Linked DNA regions of Homo sapiens: regions 2, 3, 4, 5, 6 and 7 are each linked to region 1. The links are contacts of gene promoters, found by promoter capture Hi-C in blood cells and fetal thymus (Javierre and others, 2016). All regions are on one chromosome and are shown on one strand. Each heading gives the region's core, a stretch centred on a gene start or on the middle of the fragment in contact. The rest is flanking DNA. Distances are from core to core; before and after follow the strand shown.

Region 1 (2,678 bases), core at 127-2,626:
CCTCAGCCTACTGAGTAGCTGAGACTACAGGCGGCACCAGCCTGGATAAGTTTTTTAATTTTTTGGTAGAGACAGGGGTCTCGCTTTGTTGCCCAGGCTGGTCTTGAACTCCTGGCCTCAAGCTATTATTTACTACTCAGCTTCCCAAAGCGCTGGGATTTCAGGCATGACTTTGCAGGGAGCAGCAAACAAGCCAGTCTGCTGCCCCCATAGCCTCCGGTAGTGAGCAGTCACAGGATGCTCACTCCCTGGGTGCCTTGATTATTATATTGGCTGCCTGTGTAACTGACTACAGAAACTGCTCCATCAGAAGATGGAAGCTTTGGAGCCTTGTATTCTCAGCCAGAGCAGGCGCGGTTGCTCAGGCTAGCGGCTGTCTCAACAATGTACTGTAACATTCCCTCCAAAAAGTCCTCAACATTTAAGCTTGCCTTCTACTGTGTGTAAGTTGCATGTCCGAAACACTCCATTACGGATATGGGAATATAATCAATCCATGTGACTTAGCCAATCTGATGAGTGAGAGATGACTTATCTTCCTTGTGTTACTTTTCATTTCTCTTGAGGTTGAATACTTTACAAATATTTATCGATAATTTGTGAAACTGTTCTTTAAAAAACAAAACAAAACAAAAAAACCTAACCCCTCCCCTGAGATTTCTCTTTCCACGTTCCTGACTCAGGGGAAACAAAGGAAGACTTCCTTTTATCATCTCAGTGTTGGCTGCGGTTCCAGCTTGAGTACTGTCTCCTCTGTCTAATGACTGTGTCATTTCCCGTTCAGCTTGTGCTGTGTGGACGCACACCACTGTCAGGCAATGTGTGATGCCCCTTCCTCTTGGTCTGTTCCGGGCTCCAAGAAGGCCAGGAGTCAGGGCACGAGGGCATTTCCTTTTTCTGATACATAAACCGAGTGCAGAGTGTGCTCCGTGGAGGAATTCAGACGTGTCCTTCCGTAGCGCAGATGAACGCATCAGGTGTTCTCTTTCACTGCTGTCGCAGTCCCTGCGCCCAGTTCGCAGTTGGCGGCAGCGGCAGGCGTCTTTCAGAGACGAATTAGCAAAGGGGACATTCTCTGACAGTTTCTCTAGGGTGCTTTAGCGCTAGAGCCCGTGCCAGCCTGCCCGTGTCCCCTCCTATAGACACGGACTTCACGGTGAATGCTGACAGTCACAAGCGCGTGGTCTTCCCGCTTTCCACCCCCCGACGTGCCCCCGCGCTGGTCCTGCCCCTGCCCACGAGGGTCGGCGCGCCGTGTGTCTCCCGGTGTCTCGGGCCCGCGGCGCGCACCCCACTCAGGGACCAAGCGGCCCTCCCCGCCCTCCCGGTCCGCGCGCGCAGCCAATGGGCGCGGGACCCGCCCTCCCCGGAGCCCAGAGCTCGCAGCTCCGCCGGCGCCTGGTCCCAGCGCCCGCGGCGCCGCGTCCCCGGCCCAACCATGGCGTCCTCCGCGGCCGGCTGCGTGGTGATCGTTGGCAGGTAAAGGGCTCCGAGCCGCGCTGCTGCCCCTGGAGCCCGGGGAGACGCCGGGGACGTGGTGCCCTCGCGTGGGGCCCTCGGGGTGGGCGCCGGGTCGCTGTCCCCGCCCCGGCCTCCGGTCCTCCGAAGCCCTGCGCCCTGCGGCCCCTACGGCGCTGGCGGGCTCGGGGAGAGGCGCGGCTGGAGGGGCTTGGCAGGTGGAGGCGCCCCGCGGAGTTGGGTCTGCTTCCCGGGAGCCAGCGTTGCAGGAGGTTCCGAGGTTGACCGCCCAGGCCGCGGGGCCTGCGGTTCCTGGACTCTGTTGAATGTCGCCGCGTCTGCCCGCAGGTCCACATAGAAGTGCCAGGCACCGTGTTGAATGAAACGAATTCTGGCTGCGATCCTGCGACGACTGTGTTCTCATCCCCATTTTACGAATGAGAATACTGAGACTAAGCAGTTTACCTAAGGTCACAGGCGTTTAGTGACGGAGACAGGACTAGCCCAGCAGGGAGGGTGCCAGCGCAGTCCTGTCGGCGACGATGTCGCTGGAGGCCGCAGCAGGTGTTAGGCGAACATACACGCAGTCCTAATTCCTGGGCGAGGCGATGTTTCCAGAGGGGAGGTGGGGGCCGATGGAGCCCAGAGAGTTTGCTAAGTGTGTCCATTTAACAGCTTAAATTCTGCCCAAACTGATTTTTAGTGTGTGCTTCCCCCACCCCGCCCCCCACCCCTACGGTTACAATCCTTGCTATTTTTGTTTTTTAAAAAGGGGCATTTGTATGTACCTTTCTTTGGCCAGCTGTTAGCAGCAATCTATAAACATGTTAATACTTGCTATTGATAGTTAAAAGCACCTTTTTGGTGACTGCTGTTGAGGTGTTGGCCTGCCCCCGACTCCGCCCCCCATCAGTGTACAACCCGGTGTGGAGACCACTTCCAATGTCAGGGTGTTTCCTTCCCACTGAAGGAAGGCATCAGATTCCTTGTTGTCAGCTTTCTTTTCTCCAGAGCAGTGGAGTTAACTGTGCCTTTGTTCTTTCTGGCCCATGAGTGCCCGTGGTTGAATAGTGAAGGCATATTAAAAAGTGCACTTTGGGCCGCGCGCGGTGGCTCACCCCTGTAATCCCAGCACGTTGGGAGGCCGAGGCAGGCGGATCATCTGAGGTCGGGAGTTCGAGACCAGCCTGACCAATATGGAGAAACTCCGTCTCTACTAA
Region 2 (2,678 bases), core at 71-2,570, 410 kb before region 1:
AGGCTGAGGCAGGAGAATGGCATGAACCTGGGAGGCGGAGCTTGCAGTGAGTCGAGATCACGCCACTGCACTCCAGCCTGGGCAACAGATCGAGACTCCGTCTCAAAAAAAAAAAAAAAAAGAAAATTTAGGACACTTTGAAAACACAGTGAACAGACACCTATAGTAATCATTTTCCCTGTCACTAAAACTCATAAAACAATGGCTTTGAATGGCTATATGATATTCCATTATGATGATATAGCCCAAATTAATTAACCATTTACTTGTTATTGGAAATTTAGGTTATTTCCTATTTTAAATAATTTAAAATGTAAATATACCTTGTAAATAACATCATATTGCATATCTTTATACATGATCTTTTTCTTTTCCTTGTATAAGCTTTATCATGAGTACATAATCTTTTTCTGCATCTTTAATTATATTCTTAAGAACATTTTTAATGCTCTTGTTATATATTTCCAAATTGATTTCCAGTGTATACTCCCAGGAGAGGGTTAATTTCATGGTTCCTCTTGTGAATGTTATCTTTATTTTATTCTTTAAATATTTCTTTTCTGTATTTTGAATAAATGTACAACAGAATGTTATGTGGATTTTCTTTTTTCCCATGTTCCAGAATTGCAGCTGAAACCAAAAGCCCTGGACAAAAAATGTGAAGTGTCTGGGAACCTTAGAGACCCCTCTGGGCTTTCCGAGAAAGGCAAGATCCGCAATCAGCTCTCCAGCCTTCTCACCTCCCCAGCCAACAGAAACTCTTCTGTCTCCTGGTTGGACTTGGGCTCAGCCTCAGCTGTTGATTAGGACAACTGTGTCCCCCAAGCAGGGGAAGAAACCTTGGAAGAGATGAAGAACAGGGAGTGAGTAAGAGCGTGTCAGTTGAGTGACCGTGAAGACAGTGGGAATGGAGGCAGCTTACCCATGTCGGGCAGATCCACTCCTCCCAGAACCCTCCCAAAAGCCCCTCCACATGCACCTATGGAAGTTCCAGTATTTGAGGGGTCGCCTCACATAGCCCATGTCAGTTAGCATTAGCCACAGAGGCAGGGACACTCACAAGAACCTTGCTGCCAGCTTTGCACAGGGAACTTACCATGAGGTGATGAAGTTTAAGCTCAGTGCCCTTCACCTGGATAATCTATGTTAATACTCAAAGGTGTCCAACATTTTTTTGAGACTAAGTCTTGCTCTGTCACCCAGGCTGGAGTGCAATGGTTGTGCGATCTCAGCTAACTGCAACCTCTGCCTCCCGGGCTCAAGCAATTCTCCTGCCTCAGCCTCCCAAGTAGCTGGGATTACAGGCACCCACCACCACGCCTGGGTAATTTTTTTTTTGTATTTTTAGTAGAAATAGGGTTTCACCATGTTGGCCAGGCTGGTTTCGAACTCCTAACCTCAAATGATCCTTCCGCCTCAGCCTCCCAAAATGCTGGGATTACAGGTGTGAGCCACCATGCCCGGCCTTTTTTTTTTTTTTTTTTTTTTTTTTTGAGACAAGGTATCACTCTGCTGCCCATGCTGTAGTGCAGTGATGCGATCATAGGTCAATGTGGCCTCCACCTCCTAGCCTCAAGTGATTCTCCTGCCTCGGCCTCCCAAAGTGCTGAAATTACAGGCATGAGCCACTGTACCTGGCTATTTTTTTCACTCTCTCTATTTTTTTTTAGACAAGAGTCTTGCTCTGTTGCCCAGGCTGGAGTGCAGTGGCACGATCTCGGCTCACCGCAAGCTCCTCATCCCAGGTTCACACCATTCTTCTGCCTCAGCCTCCTGAGTAGCTGGGACTACAGGTGCCCTCCACCACGCCCGGCTAATTTTTTGTATTTTTAGTAGAGACGGGGTTTCACCATGTTAGCCAGGATGGTCTCGATCTCCTGACCTCGTGATCCACCTGCCTCGGCCTCCCAAAGTGCTGGGATTACAGGTGTGAGCCACCACGCCCGGCCCTTTTTCACTCTCTTGCCTAGGCTGGAGTGTGGTGGCACAGTCATAGCTCACTGTAACCTCAAACTCCCAGGCTCAAGTGATCCTCTTGCCTCAGCCTCCCCAGTAGCTGGGGACTACAGGTGCATGCCATAAAGTCCAGCTAATTTTTTTTAGGTTTTGTAGAGACAGGCTCTTGCTACATTGCCTGGGCTGGCCTCCAACTCCTGGCCTCAAGTGATCCGCTTGCCTTCACCTCCCAAAGTGCTGAGATTATAGGCGTGAGCCACCACTCCTGAGCCCAACATTTTATACATATTTATAAGCTTCAAGTCTGGATCTTGGATGTGCAGTTGGCAGGCAGTCACATAAGACCTCTGTCTCCCATGCTCTTATTATCATTATTCAGGGCATACATGTGCATGTTTGTTACATGGATATAACGTGGAATGGTGAGGTTTGAGTTTCTAGTGCACCCATCACTAAAATAATGAATCTTCTATGCAATAGGTCATTTTTCAACATGAAATCCCTCCCATCCTCTCCCCCTTTGGAGTCCCCCAGTGCCTATTATTTCCCTTTCCATGGTTTTTTTTTTTCTTTCTCCAATACCAGAAATGTCAGGAAAGACGGAAAAGTGAAGCTGACACCTCCATCCCCTACTGCAGATGATAAGGCACTAGTGCAAATTGCATTGAAGGTTAAAGAATCTGCAACAAAATGTCTTCAGTGGACTGGCTACGCAATGGGAA
Region 3 (2,678 bases), core at 91-2,590, 390 kb before region 1:
TCCTGAGTAGCTGGGACTACAGGTGCCTGCCACCACGCTCAGCTAATTTTTGTATTTTTAGTACAGACGGGGTTTCACCATTTTGGCCAGGCTGGTCTTGAACACCTGACCTCAAGTGATCTGCCCGCATCGGCCTCCCAAAGTGCTAGGATTATAGGCATGAGCCACTGCACTCAGCCTCTCCTTTCTTTCTTTCTTTTTTTTTTGAGACAGAGTCTCATTCTGTCTCCCAGGCTCCAGTACAGTGGCATGATCTTGGCTCACTGCAAGCTCTGCCTCCTGGGTTCACGCCATTCTCCTGCCTCAGCCTCCCGAGTAGCTGGGACTACAGGTGCCCAACACTGCACCTGGCTAATTTTTTTGTATTTTTAGTAGAGTCGGGGTTTCACCATGTTAGCCAGGATGGTCTCGATCTCCTGACCTCGTGAGCCAGCTGCCTTGGCCTCCCAAAGTGCTGGGATTACAGGCGTGAGCCACCAGGCCCAGCCTTCTTTTTTTTTTTTTTTTTTTTTTTTTTTGACACAAGGTCTTGCTGTGTCACTCAGGCTTGAGTACAGTAGCATGATCTCAGATCACTGCAACCTCTGCCTCCTGGGCTCAAGCGATTCTCCTGCCTCAGCCTCTTCAGTAGCTGGAACTACAGGCACACATCAGCATGCCTGGCTAAATTTTGTATTTTTTGTAGAGATGGGATTTCACCATGTTGCTCAGGCTGATCTCTAACTCCTGGGCTCAAGCAATCTTCTCACCTTGGCCTCCCAAACTGCTGGGATTACAGCTGTGCGCCACCATGCCTAGCGGGGTTCTCTCTTTTATTTTTATTTATTTATTTTTTTGAGATGGTGTCTCACTCTGTCACCCAGGCTGGAGTGCAATGTCGCAGTCTCGGCTCACTGTAACCTCTGCCTCCCGAGTCCAAGCGATTCTCCCACCTCAGCCTCCCGAGTAGCTGGGACTACAGGCACCTGCCACCACACCCAGCTAATTTTGTATTTTCGGTAGAAATGGGATTTGGCCACTATGTTGGTCAGGCTGGTCTCAAACTCCTGCCTCAGCCTACCAAAGTGCTCGGATTACGGACATGAGCCACCACGCCCACCCAGCCTATCTCTTTTTTATTCTTAATCTAGTTAAGTTTGTCAATTTTGTTGATCCTTTCAAAGAACAAATTCTTGGTTTTATTGATTCTCTCTATTGGTTCCCATTCTCGATTTCATTTATCTCTGCTTAATGTTTATTTTTTTCCTTCTGCTAGCTTTAGGTTTAGTTTGTTCTTCTTCTTCTAGTTCCTTAAGGTATAATGTTAGGTTGTTGACTTGACAACTTTCTTCTTTTTAAATGTGTTTGTTGTTGCTGTGGACCCTATCCCTGTTGGACTGAACAAAGGATGACGAACTTGGGAATAAAGATAAAGGCAAAAGAGTATATTTGGAAGAAGGGGTTGGGAGGAGGCGGTCCTTGCTTCTAGTGAACAAGGGCCCTGAGCTTTAGAGCCCTTCGCATTTTATTGAGTAAAGGACACAGGGAGGAGGCAGTGGTTGGTCAGCAGCTTGATTTACAGCTGGCTTGCAAGACTGCATTCTTCAAACAATAAGCTCTAGATGTCCCAGTAGATAACCTCAATGAGCACAGCACCAGGGAGTGATTGCCCTCAGCAAACCTTCTGGCGGTAGGCACAGTCGCTGAGTCTGCCCACATCCTGCATTCATGATAAACAGTTGGCTGTTTGATCATATAGCCTCCAGTGGAATGCTGAGTTGGTCACGATCCCTTTGGTCTTTTCGGCTCCCAACATTTATAAATAAATTTCCTCTTAGTATTGCTTTTGCTGCATCCCATAACTTTTGGTATGTTGTGTTTTTATTTTGATTTATCTCAGGATATTTTCTAATTTCCCTTGTGATTTCTTCTTTGACTCTTTGGTTGTTTAAAAGTGTGTCATTTGGGAGTCTCTCAGAGTCTATTCTTGTTTGGGGGCTGCCCAAGTTTTTTCTTTTTTTTTTTTTTTGAGATGGAGTCTTGCCCTGTTGCCCAGGCTAGAGTGCAGTGGTGCGATCTCAGCTCACTGCAACCTCTGCCTCCCGGGTTCAAGCGATTCTCCTGCCTCAGCCTCTGGAGTAGCTGGGACTACAGGCCCGCGCCAACGTGCCCAGCTAACTTTTTTTGTATTTTTAGTAGAGATGAGTTTTCACCATGTTGGCCAGGCTGGTCTCAAACTCCTGACCTCAAGTGATCTGCCCATCTCGGCCTCCCAAAGTGCTGGGATTACAGGTGTGAGCCACCATGCCCGGCCAGGGACTGCCCAATAAAAAAAAAATAAAAAATAAAAAAAAAGCAAAAAAAAGGGGAAAAAATAGAAAAAAAAGTTACAGTGTGTTGTTTAATTTCCACATATGTACTAATTTTCCATTTTCCTTATGCCATTAATTTCTAGTTTTATTTCACCATGATTAGAAAAGAAATTGTGTGATTTCAAATCCCATTTCCACCGGGTGCGGTGGCTCGCGCCTGTAATCCCAGCACTTTGGGAGGCAGAGGCAGGCAGATCACGAGGTCAGAGATCAAGACCATCCTGGCTAACATGGTGAAACCCCATCTCTACTAAAAATACAAAAAATTAACTGGACATGGTGGCGGGTGCCTGTAGGCCCAGCTACTCAGGAGGCTCAGGCAGGAGA
Region 4 (2,678 bases), core at 80-2,579, 360 kb after region 1:
TCCATACATACACCGCAAAGTTCCCAAAGGGAGAAGATATTTTAGATGCGCCTTTAGGAGCTTAGTTTTTCCTCCTTGGGATAACTTTAAATTCAGATCTCAGCAGAACAAACGCATTTTTCAGGGCAAGCCAACTGCTAATCCGAGTAGATCTAAACGCTAACGAAGGCAGCCGACGGAAGCTGCTCCATGAAGACACGAAAACTATCAGACTTGCATTTTGCCACATTCCTGGAATAAACTTATTACTCATAAAGGTGATTTTGAAGCCATTTCAGCTTGTGGAATGATCACCGAAATGCAGTCCACCGATATTTGTTAATATCCCAGGCTGGTCAAACCCCACTCCAGACCTTGGGGGACGGGGAGGGGACCCGCGGCCTCTCTAGGCTGTGCCCAGACAGCAGACAAGGACGCGATGCCGCCCTCGGTCCGCGGCCTTCCGCGGTAGGCGTCCCTCTCAAGCGTGGTAAAACCACCCCGAAGGGAACAGAAAACGTTAAAATCTTCGTTGGGCGCCAGCAGGCAGGTTAGGCCTCGCCCTGGCATCTCGTCTCCAGGACCAGATGGAGCGAGTGACCCGCGGGGACACCTTCCCGGTCACCTCGAGCGCAATAAAACAAGTTCTTTTTTTAAAAATAAGCATCCGTGTGCCTGCCGGCTAAATTAAGTGTGTCTGAAGAGAAGCAGGATGGCGGCCGCTATTTATAACCTCCCGCCCCGCCCGGGCGCCACTCCTCGACAGCACCCACGCTGTGCCCGGCGGCGCTTCCGCGGGGACTTCCTGCTCGGTGGTCCCCGCCCCGCCCCGCGCCAGCCGTCCGGAACCCGCGTCCCCAGGCGGCTGCAGGCGGGCGAGACCTAGGTGCCCGACGCCCACGCGCCTCCGACCGTGGGAGCGCCCGGAGAGCAGCTACCTCGCCGGGCCTGCGAAGCCCAGGACAGGCGCGAGCGGGGCGCGGGCTGGCGCATCTGCGTGCGGTGGGCGCCCCGCAAGCGGGTCGGGCCCGCCCCAACAGCCCTCGGCTCTCCTCTCACGTCCCGCGCGGGCATGCCCCGGAGTGCGTAGGCGGCAGGGAAGAGCCCCCGCGTCCACATCCCCAGGGCCCGCGCAGGTGCGGGATGGGGATGCAGGCGCTAGGCATGGACGTGCGCGCGGGGTAGGGTGTGGAATGCGGACGCGGGCGAGTGCTGTGGCTGCGCGTACAGGGTAGGGATGCGGGGGCGGTAGGTGTGCGTGCTGGGAAGCGCGCGGGGCGGGGCTGTTCGGAGGCGGCGGGGGCGTGGCGCGGCGTCCTGAGCTGCAGCTTGGGGGCGTCGGGCGCAGCGCACACTGGGGCTGCAGGGATGGCGATCAGGGCGGGGAGGTCGGGCCCTGGCGCGGGGCGCACGCGTGAAGCAGCACCGCACGTGTGAAAGGAATTCTTTTCAGAGCGGCCGGGAGCCCTGCTCCGGAGGAACGCACCCGGGTCGCCGCCGCGGCAGAGCGGGGTAAGGCGGGCCGGGCGCCCCGGAGGCCAGGCACAGGGGCCGAGGGCAGCGCGGGGCGGGGACGGGCGGGTCGGCGGCGCAGCGGAGCTGCCGGGCGAGCCCAGCGGGCTGAGACTGCCGAGCTGGGAAGCCGAGCCCCGGCACGTGTGCGGCTCCCAGCCCCCTAGGATTCTTTCAGGATTCTTCAAAAAGTTGTGGGGAGCTCGGGAAATTTGTGAGAAACTTTTGGAATAATTGATCTTCCTCCTTTGCTCCTGGAGGTCTGGAGAGCAGCGCCTCGTTTGGCTTCCCTTGATGGACAGTCCAAGGCCGAGTTTAAGTTGTTTTCCTGGGGTTGTTTTCCCCCTCGGGTGGAGGAAGCCGGGCTGTCCCGGACCGTCAGGCTGTAGGGCTCCTAGCGATGCTGAAATGCTTGAAAACTCTAAGCAGATGTCACCGCGCCAGCTAACGGCGCGCACCCAGCCGTCCACGGGCATTCAGCATCGCCGTGCTCCTAAAAGTCCTGTTGGGATTGTTTAGAAACAAGGTTGGCTCGCCTACATTTTTTTCAGAAACTTTTTAAAACTTTTTATTTTTAAGAAACACTGTAGCTATTAATGCCACGACCAGATTTCTCGACCTGTATGTTTGTTATGATGTGTTCAACTATAAGGAATTTGCAGAGGAGTGGAAAAGCACTGTCCGAGCCCCTTCCCGTAGGAGACTTGAGAAAACAAACGGCAGTGACGCGGCTGCATTTGCTTTGTTGCCGACTCCACACTAGTGAGCAAAATTCATCCTACCATGTAGAGTTCTCGGTTCGTGAATATGTGACTGCAACTTTAGAACTCCAGTTTTTATTTTATCAAGATGTCTCCAAAACATGCCATTTAAAAATGATTCTATACAAACAGCTGACAAGCGAATTATGGGTCTCATCACCCAGGAATTAAAAACCATGGTGATTTATGATGTGCGCATCACTTCACTGGCGGTCCATCCATGTGCAAGACAAACATTAAAAGATTAAAGAGGAAAAAAGAGGGATTTATTTTCCGAATATCAGTGTGTTCAAAGTAAACATCAGCTAGTTTGGCACAGATTCCACCTGCTCAGCAGTTTGGTTCATATCGAGATAAGCATCTCATAAGGGCAATGCATGTGTTGCTGTAGTGGAAAGTAATTCACGAAACGGTACTACTCTAACA
Region 5 (2,678 bases), core at 49-2,548, 340 kb before region 1:
GAACTAGCAGCAGTGGTGAAGGTGGCTCTGTCTCATTTAGGAGTTAGGTCTTAGCAGAGGAACAGGTTCAACAACTACCTTTTAAATTCTCACTGAAGCCATTTTAATTAATTTACTTATTTCAGTGGTCAGCTTTTATAGTTGTGTGGATTCGTTTCTGGCACTAAGAAGATTTAACATATACCTGTGGAGGATATTTAACTCAATGTTAAAGGAAGCAAAACTAAACGGCATAAAGAGTTTAAGGAAGCATTAATTCATCCTTACTGCCTTGAAATTGTTCAGCATTAATAGATTTAGAAAACCGTTGTGTTAAACTATTAACCTAAAATAATTTGAGTCTGGTTTTCATGGCATATGCCTTAACGACATTGACTAGGATTCCATCAGTGTTTCATCTGACTTTCTATTGGAATTCAGTGTCATTGTACACTAGTTGGGAAATAGTTGATCTAACTTACAAGTATTTTATTAGAGTGTATTTGTTTATACCATTCTTTCCTTTTTAGAATATGTATATTTTATGAAGTATTGTTGCTTTGTTATGATTGAGCTTGTTTTGGAATACTTTTGTTTTCCTGATAAAATTTTCTAAAGAGTAGTATTGCTAGTTCTGGCCATGCTTTTAAAATGAGTTTGGGTTTTGAGACACTGACTATTTAAAAGGTGGAGTGCATGTATTACAAGCATAATCATTAATGTACTGCAAAGCCCTGTGTTACATTAATGTTTACATCTAAACTTCACAGAAAATCTTTTCACTCCTTATTCAGTTGCCACCAGCACAGAAGGGTAAATTCCTCTAAGAAGACTTCTCATACAAGTGGCAGTCAATCGCAGTTCAGAATTTTCACATTCTTGTTTAGGGATTATGTGTCATTTTTATAGAAGGTCTGGGTAATATATTCTACTAAAGGGGAGACTTTCTTTGATGCTTCCCTTTTCTGGCCTCTTAAAATTCTTCCTTCTCACTTCTAACTTGAGTTTTATATGTTGCTCATTTTTCCTCATTTCTTTCTCTTCTTATCCTTTTGTTTTCATTCTAGTTTTTATTTTCTTTGCTCTTTTCTGTGTGTGTGTGTGGTGTATCTGTGCATGCATGTGGCATGCTTGTGCATTTTGTCAGAAGAGCACTTTTAGACTTCTTCACTTCAGAAGTCTTTGGCACTTAGTAATTTAAATTTTTTAGGATCAAATGTTCCTTTAAAAAAACAAGTGAGTTCTGTTCTTGTTAAAGAAATAATCAAGAACTGTGAGGGATTGGCTTACTTCTTCTGGAGCTAACTTTGTGGCATTCTTTTACTCTTTCTCAGGGAGAAATGGATTTCTTTCACTTCTGATCTCACAAGTGCCAAAACAAAACAAAATAATAAACCACCAAAAAGTCAGTTAAACTAGTAAACTTTTACACCTCTGGAAAATTGTTTCCTTAGTAGTGCTGTCAGTCACTGGGAATTAATAAATCATCTTCCATCTGAGACTTTTTGTCATTAGTTGGTGGGCATAGGTATCACTGAGTCAAAGAGTAGACTTGGAGCTTATATTGCCTGTGCTTTGGACAGAAATACTTAAGGCCAGAGAGTTGATTGTAGTAGCTGTATATCTGTGGCTTCACTACCGGGGTTTTTTCTTTTTTAAAAAAACTTTTTGGTCAGAATGTAGTGCTTTTCCTGTATTATTAACTTTAACTTTTGTCTTCATGTTTCTGTTTAGTTTCAGATGGCTGACAAAATTCAAATGAATTTTATTTACATAATTATTATTAAAGAAAGTTACTGTGGTAGCAGATGAAAGCATTTTGCTAAAGTGACCTAAAATAATTTATTCTCTGGACAGTGTCCTAGTCAGTGGCAGATCTTCCCAGAAGTAGTTTAGAAATTCTAGATGAGGCTGGGTGTGGTGGCTCACACCTGTAATCCCAGCACTTTGGGAGGCTGAGGTGGGTGGATCACTTGAGGTTGGGAGTTTGAGACCAACCTGACCAACATGGAAAAACCCTGTCTCTACTAAAAATACAAAATTAGCCGGTGTGGTGGCACATGCCTGTATTCCCAGCTACTCGGGAGGCTGAGGCAGGAGAATCACTTGAACCCGGGAGGCAGAGGTTGTGGTGAGCCGAGATTGCGCCATTGCATTCTAGTCTCAGTAACAAGAGCAAAACTCCATCTCAAAAAAAAAAAAAAAATGCTAGATGAATTGTGAGTTCTTCATGAAAACCCTGTAGTTTCAGGCATCTTTGTAACAGAGAGCGAAAGTAAAGCTCATATGTATTTGTGAAGTTCTAATTTCATACTGGTAGGCTTCGAGAGTACCTTCTAGCATCTCTTGCATATTTCTACTATGTATAAGTTAAATTTATGACAGCTAATAATGGTTTTTATGAGAAAGGGTAATTTATTAGTTTAGGAAAATTTCTTCTTTTAAATTAGGAATTTGGCTTTTTTTTTTTTTATTCCTCCATTCTTAGAGTCAGCTTCTTATGGGAGTAGTCATTTAGAGATCATCATTTAATACCATGCAGAGGTCTAAGAAAAAGAATTAAGAAACTTTTGTGTCTTGAAAATTTTGAATATTCATCTTCTATAACTGCCCCCTCACATCCAACACCCACCCACCTCCAAAGGGCAGAAAAAGGCTTGGATGTAAAAACAAATAGTTAGGAATGTTTCAGTGATCAT
Region 6 (2,678 bases), core at 116-2,615, 340 kb after region 1:
CAGGCAGGCGTGGTAACATGTGCCTGTAGTCTCAGCTACTCAGGAGGCTGAGGTGGGAAGATTGCTTGAACCTGGGAGGTCCATGCTGCAGTGAGCTGAGATTGTGCCACTGCACTCCAGCCTAGGCGACAGCAAGATCCTGTCCCAAACAACAACAACATCAAAAAACACAGAACTTTTAAAATAAGTACATTCACTTCTACAAGCTATGTAGATTATTACTCTCAAGCTATTAAAAGACCAAGCCAAAATAATTATGGGCTACTCTCGACCACTTGTAGGAATGGATAGAGAGGTCTGGTCACATGCCTGGAAATTAGAGCTTGAGCTCTGAAAATGATAATCCTGACTATATCTCAAAGCATCAGTCTGCACTTTGTATGGAGCAAGAAAAAGCCTTGTGGAAGCGGCCTCCCACCCAGCCGAGCCCTCGGCGTGGACAAGCTCTGCTTTTTATGAGCAGTGGGTGCAGCCTCGCTGCTCCCTCCTCCTGTCAAAAGACAGTCACAGCTGGGGTGAGCAGATCGGGCCCACTTGGGAGGCCCCAAGGAATATGCTGCAGGGGTCGGGCCTGAGCCACCCCCACGGGTTGGTCTTTGACAACTAGAGAGCAGCTGAGAGGTGGGTAAAAGCTCACTCACTTACCCTGACCTCAGTGTCCTCATCTTAAAATGGGTTTCCTGAATCTTTCCCCGGCTTAGTGGCAATGAAATAAGATAATTTATGTAAACGTTCTCCACATAGTAAAGCACTAAGTAACATATGACTGTCATCTGTTTTCCACTAGACAGATCCCAACCTGGAAGAGTGACAGATGGTATTTCAGATACAAGTGACTCAAGCAAAGCTTGATAAACTGGGGGCTGGAAAAAAATGCACATTTACACAAAGCCTGGAGTAACTGCAGCACAGGCAGGTGAGTCTAGCCACATAAGCCGGGAGAGGAATGGCTGGGGGCAAATATAGCAGCAAAAAAGGATAAGGTGGTGACAGCTATGCGACTCTGTAATTAAAGAAAGGTCAACAGAGTAACGAAGAAGGCCATTGACTCATCTGGTCAGGGTCTCTACACTTTCCATACATCTCACCAAATGCTTTTCCCATATCACCTCATTTGCACCTCGCAGCAGTGCTCTGAAGTCCTAGGCTGTTAGTGTTATTCTTGCTGAGGGCAACAGGAAGGCACTGCTCAGAGAGGTAAGAGATCCTGCTCAGAGGCCAACAGCAGCTGGTCCTACCACACAGAGGATGTGGACCGCACTTCTACAATTCTCTAGTGCATTTGATTCCTGAAGCCGGTAACAAGCACAGTAGGAACACCCCAGCTGCCCCAGTGTTCACAGGGTCCAGGGGCAACCCCAACTTGGTGAGACGCTGTTCCATTTCTGCACATGGCTAATGATTCGTTTTCCCAGGCAATATTTACTGACTGCCACCAACTGTTAGGGGCTGGGGGCATAGCTGTGAACAGAACAAAACATCAGGCTTCACATTGAAGGAGGCCGACTCTCAACAGATCCCTGTAGGTGGTACCTGCTGCAGGTAATTTAAATGGAGGAAAATAAGACGTCATGAGGGAAACGGGAAATTGCAATGTAACTAACATAGGGTGGTCAGGAGATCCGGAGGATACAGGGCAGCAAACCACACGAGTCTCTTAGGGAAGCATCCCAGTGAGACGGAAAGGCCAGGATGCCAAAGAGTCAGGGCGAGAAAGGGGGAGATGGGGCCAAGGAGGGCGTGGCTGGGACAGATGGCGCAGGCCACGCAGGCCGCTGTAAGGATTCATGGTTTTAAGACGGAATTCTAGCATCTGCTCTCCAGCATTTGTTCTGCCCTCTGATGGACCCAAAGTCAGTCTATTTTCCACTTGAGAAAGCTTCGAATAGCTGAGAACAACAGGTCCAAGTTCAGACTTTATCCTCCTGCTCCACAGCCCCACATTCCTTCACACATTCAGCATTAAGCAACTACTGCATACCACCTTACTAGATACAGGCTGCCTTCAACTTCCCTAAGAAAACGCATGCTCTGACAGTCAAGCAGCAGTAACTGTGCTGGGAGACTCCTCCTCAAGGCAGGAACAATATTCCAGTCCACAGTGTCCTCCTAGAAGGCAGATGGCCCCCTGTCCTCAGTGCAGCCCCCGACATGGCTGAGCCATGGAACCACTGTTCTGGACATCACGTTATTGCTCAAGTGACTTAGCTTTTTAACAGCCCTGTCACTTTTGCTCATTTCAAAATGAAAAGGCAACCAATGTGATTTTTGTAATTATAGAATATATAAATACATTTTCACTTAAATAATACAGGAGTATACGAAGTCAAAAGTGAAAGTCTCATTTCACTCCCCTGCTTGGAAGTTTCAGTGTTAACATCTGGATTATATCCTTCCAGACTTTTCCCCTGTGCAATTGAATATACTCATACTTATATACATAGACACACAACACATACGTGACCATGTTGGTTTGCATTTCTTACATCATTTTTTCTATGATTGTTTCCCATTTAGTAATATGTCTTAGAAATCCTTCTAGGTCTGGCCAGGTGTGGTGGCTCACGCCTGTAATCCCAGCATTTTGGGAGGCCGAGGTGGATGGATCACTTGAGGTTAGGGGTTTGAGACCAGCCTGGCCAACATGGTGAAACCCCTTCTCTACTAAAAAAATACAA
Region 7 (2,678 bases), core at 127-2,626, 260 kb before region 1:
TAGTTTGCCTCGTCCTGTCCTCCTTTCATAGATCTCTGAGGCATTCAGTCCCTGGTTCCAGAAGTTACCCCTTCATCAGGGTCCCATTAGTAATGTTGAGCTGGGTCTCTGGTCTTAGCTCTGATTGTAGAGAATAATATGACTTTTTAATAAGTTGTATGTATCGTAAACTGAAACAAGCTATACATCACCAGGCTCAAACCCAAAAACCTTATAGGCAATCTGAAAAACACTGGAAATCTTCTTTCCTTATATAACTCAGTGAAGATATTGCCCATGAGTCTACTTGTGTATCTGTATTCATTTCTAGAAACACTCATCCATTTAATACTAGCTATAATTTTTTTATCTTTTATAAATCGAATATATCCAATCTAGTTTGTTCTTTGACCTTCATGATCAGAATGAGTTCGGAGGTTTGCCAGCTTTGCCTGGAGGCCTTGACACCGTTAGCTGAACAGTGTGCAAAAGCACAAGAAACAGACTCACCACTTTTTCTAGCAACACGGCACTTTCTTAAGGTAAGATGTCTGTGCGGTAGGTCAGAAAATCAGCTACTTTCAAAAGTGTGGTCGGTGCACATAATTCTGCATTCAAATGAGGAAATGCTTCCATTCTTTCGGGGGCAAGGAAACCATGACTTCCTGTTCACTGTTTTTTTCTGGAGATCAGCTCTTCATGGACACATTCTCATCCTCTATTTTTTGTGTTCTTGGAAATTGATGTGGTACACATTGAGGGAATTTGATATTGTTGATTATTCAGATACCACAGCAAGTAGCAATATCTGTAAGGTATTTTTTTTAAAACATTAAGGAAAATTTCAGATTGATTTAATAAATAGAATAACAACCAACCCTCTCTTCTTCTTTTTTGGACTGGGGAGGGACTGGAGGATATATGATCATCCTATGTTTTTATTTAGAAGTCTTATGTAATTTCAGCTGGTTTTTGATATGCTGGTTTTGCAAAAGCACAACACAGAGATGACCACTGCGGCTGGCGAAGCTTTCTACACGTTGGTGTGTTTGCACCAGGTACTGGACATGCCTCTTTTCAGGGGACTCTTCTCATTCTATTTTGCAAAGAGATTGTTGAGATAGATGGTGGGTCATTAATCCCCCCTTATAGGATCTGTGACTCAGTGCTTCAGTTCTGTTTCAGTGAGGAAGTATTTCTTAGCTTCTTTATTAGCTTTCACATGTCAGTTTGTGTTTATCTGACAGCTGTTTGTCAGTTCAAAGCATTTATTTTTTGTCCTCCACCATTATGAACCATCCTTTGCAATGGTCACTGCCCCAAAGCCTGTCCTTAAACAACTGTGCTAGGAATGAGGAATACATAATGGGTGTGTGAAGAACTCATGGTTTTTTGTAAGGGAGACAGGATGGCAGACAAGGAAGAGTCTGCCTTCAGACAGTATGGAAGACAGTATTTTATTGCATATTATAGAAAACAGTATATTATTTCATTTTGTTGATCTTTTAAAGATTCTGAAGCATCACTGATAATGGGGTTAATAGAAGAGTTAGGCTAGCTTACCTGTCTCCCCACTTCTGATCGAATAGGTGCCTGTGAAATTTATGAAAAGGACCGTATTGAACAGTTTGCTGCCTCTGTTTCCCCTTTTCCTCTCCCATGCATATATATACACACATATATATGTAAGGTACATATATATATATATATATATACACACACACGTATATATATATATACCTCCCAGCATGGCCAAGAAGCTTTGGCGTTTTATTTCCATCTTTAAAAAAGGGTTTAGAGGAGGTCTTCCATACTATTTAAAGACCTCCTTTCTCTAGACTTCCCGTAACATCTGTGCCCTAAGCTGAAGGTGCCCTGGGGCTTCATTTCTTGCTCTCTGCCCTAGGCTGCCACTTCCTGCAGGTGGTACCTGCTCTCAAATCTGTGCCCTTTCTCTGTCATTTGTCTTACTTGTTGCTTACTAGCAAGGTAGTCGTCTTGTCTGATCCTTCCTTCCTTCCTTCCTTCCTTCCTTCCTTCCTTCCTCTCTTTTTCTTTTCTTTTTTCTATCTTTTTCTTTCATTTTTCTTTTCTTTCCTTTCTTCCTTCCTTCCTCCCTCCTCTTTCTTTCTTTCTCCCTCCCTCCCTCCCTCCTTTCCTCCCCCGTTCCCTTCCACCCTCTTGTCTCTTCCTCCCTTCCTTTCTTCCTTCCTTCCTTCTCTTCCTTTATTTCTCTCTCTCCCTCTCTTTTAACATATTTACACACTGCAGGAAAGAGCAGGTTTCAGGAATGGCCAGTATGATACTTGCTGCCTGGCCCCAGAGGCTCTACTATCTCGCTTTTTTTTTTTTTCTGAGACAGGGTCTCACTTTATTATTACCCAGGCTGGAGTGCAGTGGTGCAATTACTGCTAACTCCTGCCTCGGCCTCCTGGCCTCAAGCAATCCTCCCGCCTCAGCTCCCCAAGTAGCTGGGACTACAGGTGTGCACCACCACACCTGGCTTATTTTTTGTAGAGACGGAGTTTCACCATGTTGCCCAGGCTTGTATCGAACTCCTGAACTTAAGCAATCCACTCGCCTCGGCCTCCCAAAGTGCCTAGGATTACAGGTGTGAGCCACCATGCCTTGCCACCTCTACCATTTCTCATGAGTAGGGAAATGATAGGAGATTATACTTGGTCCCCTGTGAACAGGAC

The links. The method cuts DNA at HindIII sites, captures the fragments that hold promoters and counts their contacts. A CHiCAGO score of 5 or more calls a contact.
Region 2: a fragment that was not itself captured here is called in contact with the fragment with the promoter of CRYL1 in region 1 in 2 of 17 cell types (endothelial precursors and total CD8 T cells); the score reaches 8.3 in endothelial precursors.
Region 3: a contact is called between a fragment that was not itself captured here and the fragment with the promoter of CRYL1 in region 1, in 3 of 17 cell types (endothelial precursors, naive CD8 T cells and erythroblasts). The highest score is 10.1, in endothelial precursors.
Region 4: the fragment with the promoter of GJA3 here is called in contact with the fragment with the promoter of CRYL1 in region 1 in 7 of 17 cell types (M0 macrophages, M2 macrophages, naive CD8 T cells and 4 more); the score reaches 12.5 in M0 macrophages.
Region 5: a contact is called between a fragment that was not itself captured here and the fragment with the promoter of CRYL1 in region 1, in 5 of 17 cell types (endothelial precursors, megakaryocytes, erythroblasts and 2 more). The highest score is 8.6, in endothelial precursors.
Region 6: a contact is called between a fragment that was not itself captured here and the fragment with the promoter of CRYL1 in region 1, in 4 of 17 cell types (M0 macrophages, M1 macrophages, naive CD4 T cells and 1 more). The highest score is 9.0, in M0 macrophages.
Region 7: a contact is called between a fragment that was not itself captured here and the fragment with the promoter of CRYL1 in region 1, in 2 of 17 cell types (naive B cells and M2 macrophages). The highest score is 6.0, in naive B cells.

Annotation. Positions count from the first base shown.
Region 1 is chr13:20,524,555-20,527,232 of GRCh38, reverse strand. CRYL1 (crystallin lambda 1) reads left to right here and starts at 1,376. Exons shown (of 8, transcript NM_015974.3): 1 at 1,376-1,479. The coding sequence starts at 1,439. RefSeq lists an enhancer at 861-970 and a silencer at 1,151-1,700. The HindIII fragment of the contact is 5,179 bases long and covers 429-2,678 here.
Region 2 is chr13:20,935,089-20,937,766 of GRCh38, reverse strand. No RefSeq gene overlaps it. Among named protein-coding and RNA genes, the nearest start is that of LINC00367, 13 kb to the left of the region's middle. The HindIII fragment of the contact is 1,868 bases long and covers 387-2,254 here.
Region 3 is chr13:20,910,180-20,912,857 of GRCh38, reverse strand. No RefSeq gene overlaps it. Among named protein-coding and RNA genes, the nearest start is that of XPO4, 8.8 kb to the right of the region's middle. The HindIII fragment of the contact is 3,898 bases long and covers 1-2,678 here.
Region 4 is chr13:20,159,703-20,162,380 of GRCh38, reverse strand. It overlaps GJA3 (gap junction protein alpha 3), which reads left to right and starts at 1,329. Exons shown (of 2, transcript NM_021954.4): 1 at 1,329-1,491. RefSeq lists silencers at 679-1,038, 1,269-1,348, 1,509-1,598. The HindIII fragment of the contact is 22,819 bases long and covers 1-2,678 here.
Region 5 is chr13:20,864,647-20,867,324 of GRCh38, reverse strand. The region is part of intron 2 of XPO4 (exportin 4); the gene reads left to right. Among named protein-coding and RNA genes, the nearest start is that of XPO4, 37 kb to the left of the region's middle. The HindIII fragment of the contact is 5,438 bases long and covers 1-2,678 here.
Region 6 is chr13:20,183,690-20,186,367 of GRCh38, reverse strand. It overlaps LOC107984553 (a long non-coding RNA gene), which reads left to right and starts at 177. Exons shown (of 3, transcript XR_001749956.2): 1 at 177-916. The HindIII fragment of the contact is 1,032 bases long and covers 850-1,881 here.
Region 7 is chr13:20,785,324-20,788,001 of GRCh38, reverse strand. XPO4 (exportin 4) reads left to right here. Exons shown (of 23, transcript NM_022459.5): 21 at 404-521; 22 at 945-1,037. Among named protein-coding and RNA genes, the nearest start is that of EEF1AKMT1, 13 kb to the right of the region's middle. The HindIII fragment of the contact is 731 bases long and covers 1,011-1,741 here.